Linked DNA regions of Homo sapiens: region 2 is linked to region 1. The links are contacts of gene promoters, found by promoter capture Hi-C in human tissues and cell types (Jung and others, 2019). All regions are on one chromosome and are shown on one strand. The core of a region is centred on a gene start or on the middle of the fragment in contact, and the rest is flanking DNA. Distances in the headings are between cores, read along the strand shown. Region 1 holds the start of DERL3 (derlin 3). Region 2 overlaps SLC2A11 (solute carrier family 2 member 11).

Region 1 (4,461 bases), core at 1,594-4,093:
AGTCTCAGAACTCTGCTAAGGTGAAAACTTAGGCTCTGAGGTCATAGAAAGGGCAGAAGACCTAGTCCTGGCCCTCTTCTGCACCTGAATCCATGGGGCTTTGGCATCACCAGATGAAAAATGAGGCATACGCCCACCTGTCAGGGTGGCTGATGAGAGACAGGAGAGGCTAGATTGGCATCAGCCTGAAGGCACCACTGGCAGGAACATCTGTAGGCTGGTTTGGCACAACCTAGGAGACGCCTGTCCTGGCCCCAGCAGCCGAAATCTGGTGAACTTCCCCGCTGACTGGCAGGTAGCAGAGGCCTATGGTGGGCAGGACTTGCCCAAGGCCCTGGTGGGGCCAGGATGAGAACCCTGAGCCTGTCACCTGTGAGCTCAAAAGCTCTGCCTGGCAACCTGTGAGCTCAAAGCTCTGCCAGGCAACCATGGGCAGTTTCTTTGCCCTCTGTGGGCACCCCTATCCTACCACCTGCAGTTGGGCTGAGAGGCCACACTGAGTGAGGACGGGGCAGGCATAGAAGGATGTGGCCAGGTGAGATGGGGAAGCCAGTGCTGTGGGCCAAGAGACTGCAGCTCATTCTGTTTATTCAGGTGGGCCCTTGCATGGGCCCAGCCTTTAGGATGGGTTTTTTCTGCCCCAAGTAGGGGTCATGGGTAGGATGGAAGCTGCCAGAAGCCTCTTAGGCCTGGCCCTGGGTGGGGGTCACTGCTGCGGGGGTGGCAGATGGGGTCCTGGCTGTTCCTCAGGGAGGGGCAGGTAATTGGGGTCTTCTGCAGGGGCATCCAGGAGCAGCTTTCTGTGGGGAGGGGCCCGTGTTGAGCACAGGCCAGCACAGGTCCCCATCGGTGGGGATCCTTCTGAGGGTGGGGAGAGGGAGGGAGGGCTCTCAACACTCACAGGAAGCCAGGGGTCTGCAGGAGCCTCTTGCCTCCAGGCTGGTTGGGGAAGACGTCCTCCAGGAAGTAGTAGATATGGCCCACCGCAATCCCTGTGAGACAGCCACGGACTGTGGGGTCACCCTCCACAGCCCAGAGTCCTAGACCAGCAGAGCCTGCCCCAGGCCCCCATCCACAGCCTGGTGGCCCTGCAGGCCCCACAGCATGAGTGCCCCAAAGCCTTGCACAGAGTGCCAGCCCCGGGTTGGCCGTGAAGGACAAGCTTAAAAGGCCCAGAAGCAGGCAGGACCCAGGGAGGGGAGGGCCTGAGAATAGTGGAGGAGTGGGAGCCATGGGGCAGGAACCCTGACCCTCCCATCCTCACTCCCATCAGGACCGTGCAAGCATCAGTAGATCCGTCCTGACGATGCAAATTATGTGGGCCGGCTGGCTTGAGGGGCTGTAAGAGCACAGCAGCTGGGAGGGCAGGAAGATGGGGATGGAGCCAGGTGTGAGGAGAACTCCAGCAAGGATGGGAGAGGGGCCCCAGGGCATAAGCAGCGTGTCCTGAGGGGAGTGGCCAGCCTGGGGCGGACTAGATGTACCGGGAGGCTCACCCAGCAGGTCCACGAGGATGGAGTTGCCCAGCAGCAGCGAGAAGCCCATGAGCGCCCAAGGCAGGAACGGTGCCTGGAAAGTGAGCAGGCCGAAGAAGTTGACCCTCACCCGAGGGCTGCGGCGGCTCCACACGTACACCAGCATGGCCATGAGGGCCTGGCCCAGGAAGAACAGGCTGCCCAGGAGTCCCAGCAGCTGGGCCAGAGTCAAGGTGCTCCGGTGCAGGCCTCAGCCCAAGCCCAGGGCCCCTCTGACTTCCCAAGACCCTGGAATTCTTCCCCTCATCTCCCCTATGTGCTATTCCCTCATCAAGATGAGCCAGTCCAATAAAGGCGACACACTCCACGGGCTTCAGGTCCCACGAAATCTGCCCTGCACACCTACAGCCTCATCCCAGGGCCCAACCACTGCCTGTCCCTGCCCCAGTTTCTCCCGGCTACTCGCATTCAGGGCTCAGCTAGTGGCCCTGACAACCCACCTGGCTCTTTTGTGCATGGCTTTGTATTTTGCATACAGCACTGAAGATCTAGCCCTGACCCCTGCAGCTGAGCACAGAGTGGGCCCTCAACACATACTAAGCTGGAGACAGCGACTGTGTCCCTCTCTGGCATGGCTGTGTTGGCCCCAGGACCAACACAGGCTGGACGCCGAGGCGCCCTAGCCCGAGGTTCCAGAGCCTGCGGGAAGGATACGGTCATAAGGACGCCCCCGAAGAGAAACATGAAGACGAAGTCGGCCGTGCGGCCGCGGAAGGAGCCCTCTTCCAGCATGCGGCAGTAGCGGAACCTACGGCGTCGGTATAGGAAGTGCCACCAGGCGGGGCCTCAGTTTCCCCGTCCCGGCCTCTCTCCCAGCCCGGCCGGCCTGCCCTCCACCCAGCCCGTGTCCGCAGGGCGCAGGATACACGAAGAGCATGTTGAAGAAGAAGCTGAATCCCAGGGGCCCGAAGAAGAGGAAGTTGGTGACGAGCCTCCAGACCTACGGGGGACGGGCGGTCAGGTGCGGGGTGGGTGGGTCGGGCCCACAGGTGCGCGGCGCGGGGCGGCCTCACCTGGAACTTCCGGAACACAAGGTGCGGGTTGAAGTAGAGTTGAAAGGGGCTGAGGAGCTCCAGCTGCTGTGGAACCAGGGGCCAGTCAAGAGCTGCCCGGGAGCCACGCCGTAACCATGGCGACCCTCACCCCTCCCGCCAGAGGCTGTAACCAAGGCGACGTCCGGTCCGCCCGGCCGCTTACCACCGCGGCGGTGGTGAGGACACAGGCTGCGGTGTAAGCCCGCGTCACCGCCGGCACCTGCAGGAACTCGGCCGCTAGTCCCTGCCACGCCATTGAACCTTCTCAAGCACGCGTGGCCCAGCCAGCAACGCGCTCTTTAACCCGCCTCCCAGCCCCGCCTTCGGCCAATCCGCATCCGAGGCGCTGCGCGCCCCAGGCTGAAAAGAGAGCCCCTGAGCCCGACAGCCAATGGAAGGAAGAAGAGGGAAATTAGGGGCGGAAAGGGAGAGTGGGCGGGTAGAGGCTGGTGGCCAATGGGCAGGCGCCAAGGTTGAGCACGTGGCGGTTGTTGTGGCTGCGGTGGTGGCGCGGGAGAACGTGTGGCCAATGAGGAACTGGTCATTTCGCGGCTTTCTAGGAGAGGACCAGTAGCGTGGACCCACGACACCACGGGGGCGGGGCTAAGATCGTATGGGTTACAGGAGCGAAGACCCGAGCAGGCGAGGCAAAACTGGAAAGGGCGGGGCGCGTGGGCGGGGCGCGGAGTGTGGCGGCTCAGACCGTGCTGGCTCACTAACTGACGACCTAGCCACAACGTTGTCCTCGCTGCCAGCCCAAGACAGGCCCACCTAACCCACAGCAGGGAGGCATTCGGGAATGTGTCCAAACCTCCCCAAACGTCCAGGGCCCCACTCAAATGTGCCGGCCGCTGTCGGGGTTCTTCCCCGGGGGCCCAAGGAAGGAGAGGCAGGACTGCGGGATTGAGTCCAGGTGGGGCGCGAGGGTTGAGAGGCGCACCAGAGCAAGTGGACAGGCAGGAGAGGTCCTCAATATTTTGGTGGAAAATAGAAACCAACCTACCCACCTTCCTTCCCTCCTTCCCTCCCTCCCTCCCTCCCTTCCTTCCTTCCACCGTTTATTAAACAACTGTTTGCCTGACACTGTTCTAGATGTTGGGGATGTAGCATGCAATAAAAGACACTGTCTCTTAGAGTCCAGCCAGGAGGCAGTCAATACAATAAGCTAGTGCTGACACTTGATGAGAATATTGCCAAGTGAGGGGTGGGGCCACGTGGGCGTCCGCAGTGCCAGGTGGGGTGACCTGGGATACCTCTAAAGTTTGTCACTTTGCAAGCATCCCTGTGTCCATCAGGATGGTAACTGTGAAAAGCAAAACAATAAAACAAAATAAGTGTTGGCGAGGATATGGGGAAATTGGAACCCTTGGGCACCGTTGGTGGGAATATAAAATGGTGCATCCGCTGTGAAAAACAATATGATCATGACTCAAAAAATTAAAAATAGAATTACCGTATGATCCAGCAATGCTGCTTGTGGGTACACATTCAAAAGAATCAAAAGCAGGGACTTGAACAGATGTTCATACACCCATGTTCATGGCCCCATTATTCACAATGGTTCACATCAGTTCACCCACCGATGAGACAGACGAAATGTGCTGTCTACATGCAATGCAATACCATTCAACCTTAAAGGAATGAAATTCGGATACATGATGCAGCATGGATGACCCTTGAAGACATTACACCCAGTAACATAAACCAGTCACAAGGCTGGGCGCAGTGGCTCACACCTGTAATCCCAGCACTTTGGGAGGCCGAGGCGGGTGGATCACCTGAGGTCAGGAGTTCGAGACCAGCCTGGCCAACATGGTGAAACCTCGTCTCTACTAAAAATACAAAAATTAGCTGGGCGTGGTGGCGGGCACCTGTAATCCTGGCTATTCGGG
Region 2 (4,781 bases), core at 1,914-4,413, 36 kb after region 1:
TTAGGAGGCCAAGGCAAGAGGATCTCTTGAGCCCAGGAGTTTGAGACTAGCCTGGGCAACATAGCAGAACCCCATCTCTACAAAAAAACAAAAAATAGAAAAAATTAGCTGGGCATCGTGGCACACACCTATGGTCCCAGCTACTAAAGAGTCTGAGGTGGGAGGATCACTTGAGCCTGGGAGGTCGAGGCTGCAGTGAGCTGTTATAGCACCACTGCACTCAAGCCTAGGTGACATAGTGAGACCCTATCTCTGAATATATATATATATATGTATATGGATAGTAATTTGCTGAAGGAGAGTAGCTCAACTTAAAAAGCTTTGGTTTTGCATTGTGATCCCCTTTTAGGGTATTTTAACTGCCACTTTGAGCACCACAGGCTCTCCTAAAGCTAAAGGGTTGAGTGGCAGAGCTCTTTGAACTTGGCTTGGGGCCACGATCATGTATAGTTGCTAGTACTCTGCGATGTGAATTTGGCTTCGACCCACTAGAGAATATACTTCTCTTGCTTAGCACCACTCAAAGCTACCAGGTTTTCAAGTCACCTGATAAATGTGCCAGGTCACGACACCTGATGTGGTATTCTGCTGCCTCCAAAATGGAAAGAAGCTCTCAGAGGTTTGTCCCTCCTTCTTAGAGGAAGGGGACCAAGGTGCAGCAATTTGTCATGCACTTTGGAGAAAATACGCTGCCACCTCTTAGTCCTCTAGACCTCAGGAACTTCGTTGGAGTGGCAGCCCCCTATCTCGTTATTAATCTTCTACTCTTTGTCACACTGTGCCTTACCAAGACTTCTAGTGCACTTGCTGCTTCCTCTTCTCCAGGTCCTTTCTGTGTGAACTCATCAAAATAGTGGGACAGCAGCATGTCCTGTGGGATGCACAGCTCCCTGTGGAATGGACTGTGGCCTGCAGCTGGGCAGCTGCTATATCCTTTTTATTTTTTTTGCGACGGAGTCTCGCTCTATCACCCAGGCTAGAGTGCAATGGCATGATCTCGGCTCACTGCAACCTCCGCCTCCCGGGTTCAAGAGATTCTCCTGCCTCAGCCTCCTGAGTAGCTGGGATTACAGGCACGTGCCACCACGCCCTGCTAAATTTTGTATTTTTAGTAGAGACGGGGTTTCACTATGTTGGTCAGGCTGGTCCCGAACCCCTGACCTCAGGTGATCCACCCGCCTCGGCCCCCTCAAGCTACTGATTACAGACACGTGTGTGTGTGTGTGTGTGTGTGTGTGCACGCGTGTGTGTAGCATGGTGGGGGGAGCACAGTGCAAGACCTTGAATTTATTTATTATTTATTTATTAGACGGGTTCAAGCGATTCTCCTGCCTCAGCCTCCCCACTACCTGGGATTACAGGTGCCTGCCACCATGCCTGGCTAATTTTTGTATTTTTAGTAGAGATGGGGTTTCACCATGTTGGCCAGGCTGGTCTCGAACTTCTGACCTCGTGATCCCCCCACCTCAGCCTCCAAAAATGCTGGGATTATAGGCGTGAGCTGCTGCACCCAGCTGCTGCTATATACTTAAGGCAGATCGGAGGAGGTATATGACTGTTCCAGCAAGGTGAATGCTAAGTGTTTTTGGCAATGTCTGTGTATTGAAATGGAGCAAAATGCACTCACTAGATTGAAGTACTTAATTATTATTAATGGATTTATTAATTCCAGTGAGGAAAATGTATATTATTGTAATTATAATTATTAGTTACAATTGGAGTTACCACTGGATCGAGTTTGTTATAATCTACTGTCATTTTTCATTCTCTAGACACAAGAGACCTAAGCTTTGGCTCATATTTTATCACCAATGTGCTGGTGACTTTGAGCAGAACACTGGCCACTTCTGGTCTTCAGTTTCCCTCTCAGTACAGTGAGCTATATGATCACAGTGAGCTCTCCTGGGTGATCTGTATGGCAGCACTTCTGAGCTCAATATGAGGAGCCAAAGCTAATGCTTCATCATGATGGAGCAGGTGACATTTCCAATGTCCCCTCCTTGGGTTGGTGTCTGTCCCATTGACCAAGGCATTGAGATATACAGCCATTCTGAGTTGTGAGAAGTGACTCTGTAATACATGGAGGAAAATATAAGGAAACTCTACTTGACTATCTATACGTCTCTTCCTTCACTCTTAAAGTCCCTGTTCTTCCTCCCTGGAGTTTTATTGAATCTGAGAAATTACATATTAGTACCTTCATTGTTGCTGTTGAGACAGGGTCTCACTCTGTCACCGAGGCTGGAGTGCAGTGGCGTGATCATGGCTCACTGCAGCCTCGTACTCTTGGGCTCTAGCAATCCTCCCACCTCAGCCTCCTGAGTAGCTGAAATTACAGGCGTGCGCCATCATGCATGGCTAATTTTTTTTTTTTTTTGAGATGGAATTTTGCTCTTGTTGCCCAGGCTGGAGTGCAATGGCGCAATCTTGGCTCACCACAACCTCTACCTCTCGGGTTCAAGCGACTCTCCTGCCTCAGTCTCGAGTAGCTGGGATTACAGGCATGTGCCACCATGCCTGGCTAATTTTGTATTTTTTTTAGTAGAGACAGGGTTTCTCCATGTTGGTCAAGCTGGTCTCAAACTCCTGACCTTAGGTGATCCACCCACCTCAGCATCCCAAAGTGCTGGGATTACAGGCGTGAGCCACCGCGCCCAGCCTAATTTTTTTTGTATTTTTTGTAGAGATAGGGTTTCATCATGTTGACCTGCCTGGTCTCCTGGGATCAGGTGATCTGCCCGCTTCAACCTCCCAAAGTGTTGGGATTAAAGGCATGAGCCACCATGCCCAGCCCAATTTTTACAGATATTTTAAAAATTATGTGTTACAACAGACGTGTAAGTGTAGGAGCTCTCATCTCATTTGACAGCAAGGATACCAGGACTCAAAGTAGTTAATGGCATACTACATACATTTGTGTGTGTGTCTAATTAAGGCTTGTTACAGTTGCAAAGAGTGGTCCCCAGGGATGGTCCCGCTGGACTGAATCACAGCCTCTCTTTCTGTGTGTTTCACTTCCCCCAAGGAAGAAGTCCCTCCTGGTGAATAACATCTTTGTGGTGTCAGCAGCAATCCTGTTTGGATTCAGCCGCAAAGCAGGCTCCTTTGAGATGATCATGCTGGGAAGACTGCTCGTGGGAGTCAATGCAGGTATGGGGTGGGGGCTTCTCATCCTGCCTCTCTATGCCTATTAATTAATAAATTCATTAATTCCTTTTATTTCATTTCTTCCTTCATTTCCTCCCTTTATTCATTCATTTATTTTTTATTTATGCCTACCTTTGTCACAAAAGGATGTAGTATAGTTTATCTTAAAGGGCTCATATAACTAGATATTTAAAGTAGGTACAGAACAATGGAAAAGTTGTGTAGGGGTGGGGGAATAAGCATCTCCAAACTTAACACTAATACAGGTCCCATGTTTGAGTAACACTCTAAGCCATGAGCTTCCTGGTAGCCAACGTGTAAAGGGATATAGGATGAGTTTTCTGATCTTCTCTCAGAAGCAGAATGGCCTGTTAGGTACTCCTCGATTTCTGGGGCTTTTCATGTGAGAGAGCAGAATTTTGAGCACATCCACCTGGGTTTTTAGGGGCTCCAACCAACAAGTCATCTCTTGACGCCCTACTGTTTATACAGCCCAGTGGTGATGTTATCTATATGATGCTATCTATATTAGTTATCTATTTGTGTGAAACAAATAACCCCAAAATTAAGTGACTTAAAATAATCAACATTTATAATCTCACAGTTTCTGTGGGCCAGGAACCCAGGAATGTCTTAGGTAGGTGGCTCTGGCTTGGGGTCTCTGACGGGGCTGTGCTCAAGCTGTCAGGGCTGCAGACATCAGAAGGGTTGGCTGGGGCTGGAGGATCCACTTCCAAGATGCTCCCTCACGTGCCATTGGCAGGAGGTCTCAGCTGCCCACTTTGGGGGGCTCTCCACAGAGCTGCTTGAGGATCTTCACAACATGGCAGCTGGCTTCTTCCAGAGTGATCTGAGGGGGTGAGGAGGGGAGGGAGAGAGAGGGAGACAGGGAGACAGAGAGAGGGCATGCACAAGGAGAAGTCCAGGTGCTTTTTATGTCCTAATTCCAGAGGTCATACACCATTATTCTGCTCATTAGAAGTGAGTTACTAAGAGTAGCCCACGATCCAGGGGAAAGGAACCAGGTCAGACTTTGTCTTCATGTCCCAAGTACCCATCAGAGAAGGAATCCCCAGCTAAATGTTTGTAGGAAGAGCAGGGGCACCTCCGAGACTCCTTGGCAATCAGCATAGCTGCCTTCCTTCCAGTTATCTTTGCCCAACTCGTAGATAGAGGGGCAGGACCTTGATGGGAGAACCCCTAGGTCAGGGAGGGCATACTGCATTCCCAGGGGCGTGACACCACAACACAGTGGCCTCTTAGCTTTTGCCATTTGTCACCCTCTGGGAGGGCGCTGGGGTGCTCTCCAGCTCTCTGTTTTCCTGAGGGCAGTGTAGGTGCCAGGGTCTTCCCTGGGGGAGCCAGGGTGAGGTGAGAGCAGCTGTAGTGATCAATGAAGGAATTGACATGAGTGCTGGGACAGCTGGTAGGCATCCAGGATGTGGTCCTACCTTCCTCCTCCCACCCCCCCGCACAGCCCCGTCAGAGTCCTTCACACTCGGGTCCCAGTGATGGGACCTAGGAAGAGCCCATGAACATGTGGTACTGTGGCCAGGGACCAGGATGGGAGCGGATCTGAGAAAGCCCTCCCTCAGAAGTTCTGAAGAGTAGAGTTGGGATCCTGTTGGCCCTTC

The links. Contacts are between HindIII fragments. The study calls those that stand out against the background at their distance.
Region 2: a fragment that was not itself captured here is called in contact with the fragment with the promoter of DERL3 in region 1 in 1 of the 25 tissues and cell types used here (aorta).

Annotation. Positions count from the first base shown.
Region 1 is chr22:23,836,163-23,840,623 of GRCh38, forward strand. It overlaps DERL3 (derlin 3), which reads right to left and starts at 2,844. Exons shown (of 7, transcript NM_001002862.3): 1 at 2,733-2,844; 2 at 2,549-2,614; 3 at 2,402-2,475; 4 at 2,190-2,283; 5 at 1,497-1,692; 6 at 902-992; 7 at 1-800. The coding sequence starts at 2,825. The coding sequence ends at 707. It overlaps SMARCB1 (SWI/SNF related BAF chromatin remodeling complex subunit B1), which reads left to right. Exons shown (of 9, transcript NM_003073.5): 9 at 1-1,847. RefSeq lists a silencer at 2,767-3,069. The HindIII fragment of the contact is 8,930 bases long and covers 1-4,461 here.
Region 2 is chr22:23,872,092-23,876,872 of GRCh38, forward strand. SLC2A11 (solute carrier family 2 member 11) reads left to right here. Exons shown (of 12, transcript NM_001024939.4): 4 at 3,026-3,150. Among named protein-coding and RNA genes, the nearest start is that of SLC2A11, 17 kb to the left of the region's middle. The HindIII fragment of the contact is 4,221 bases long and covers 1,054-4,781 here.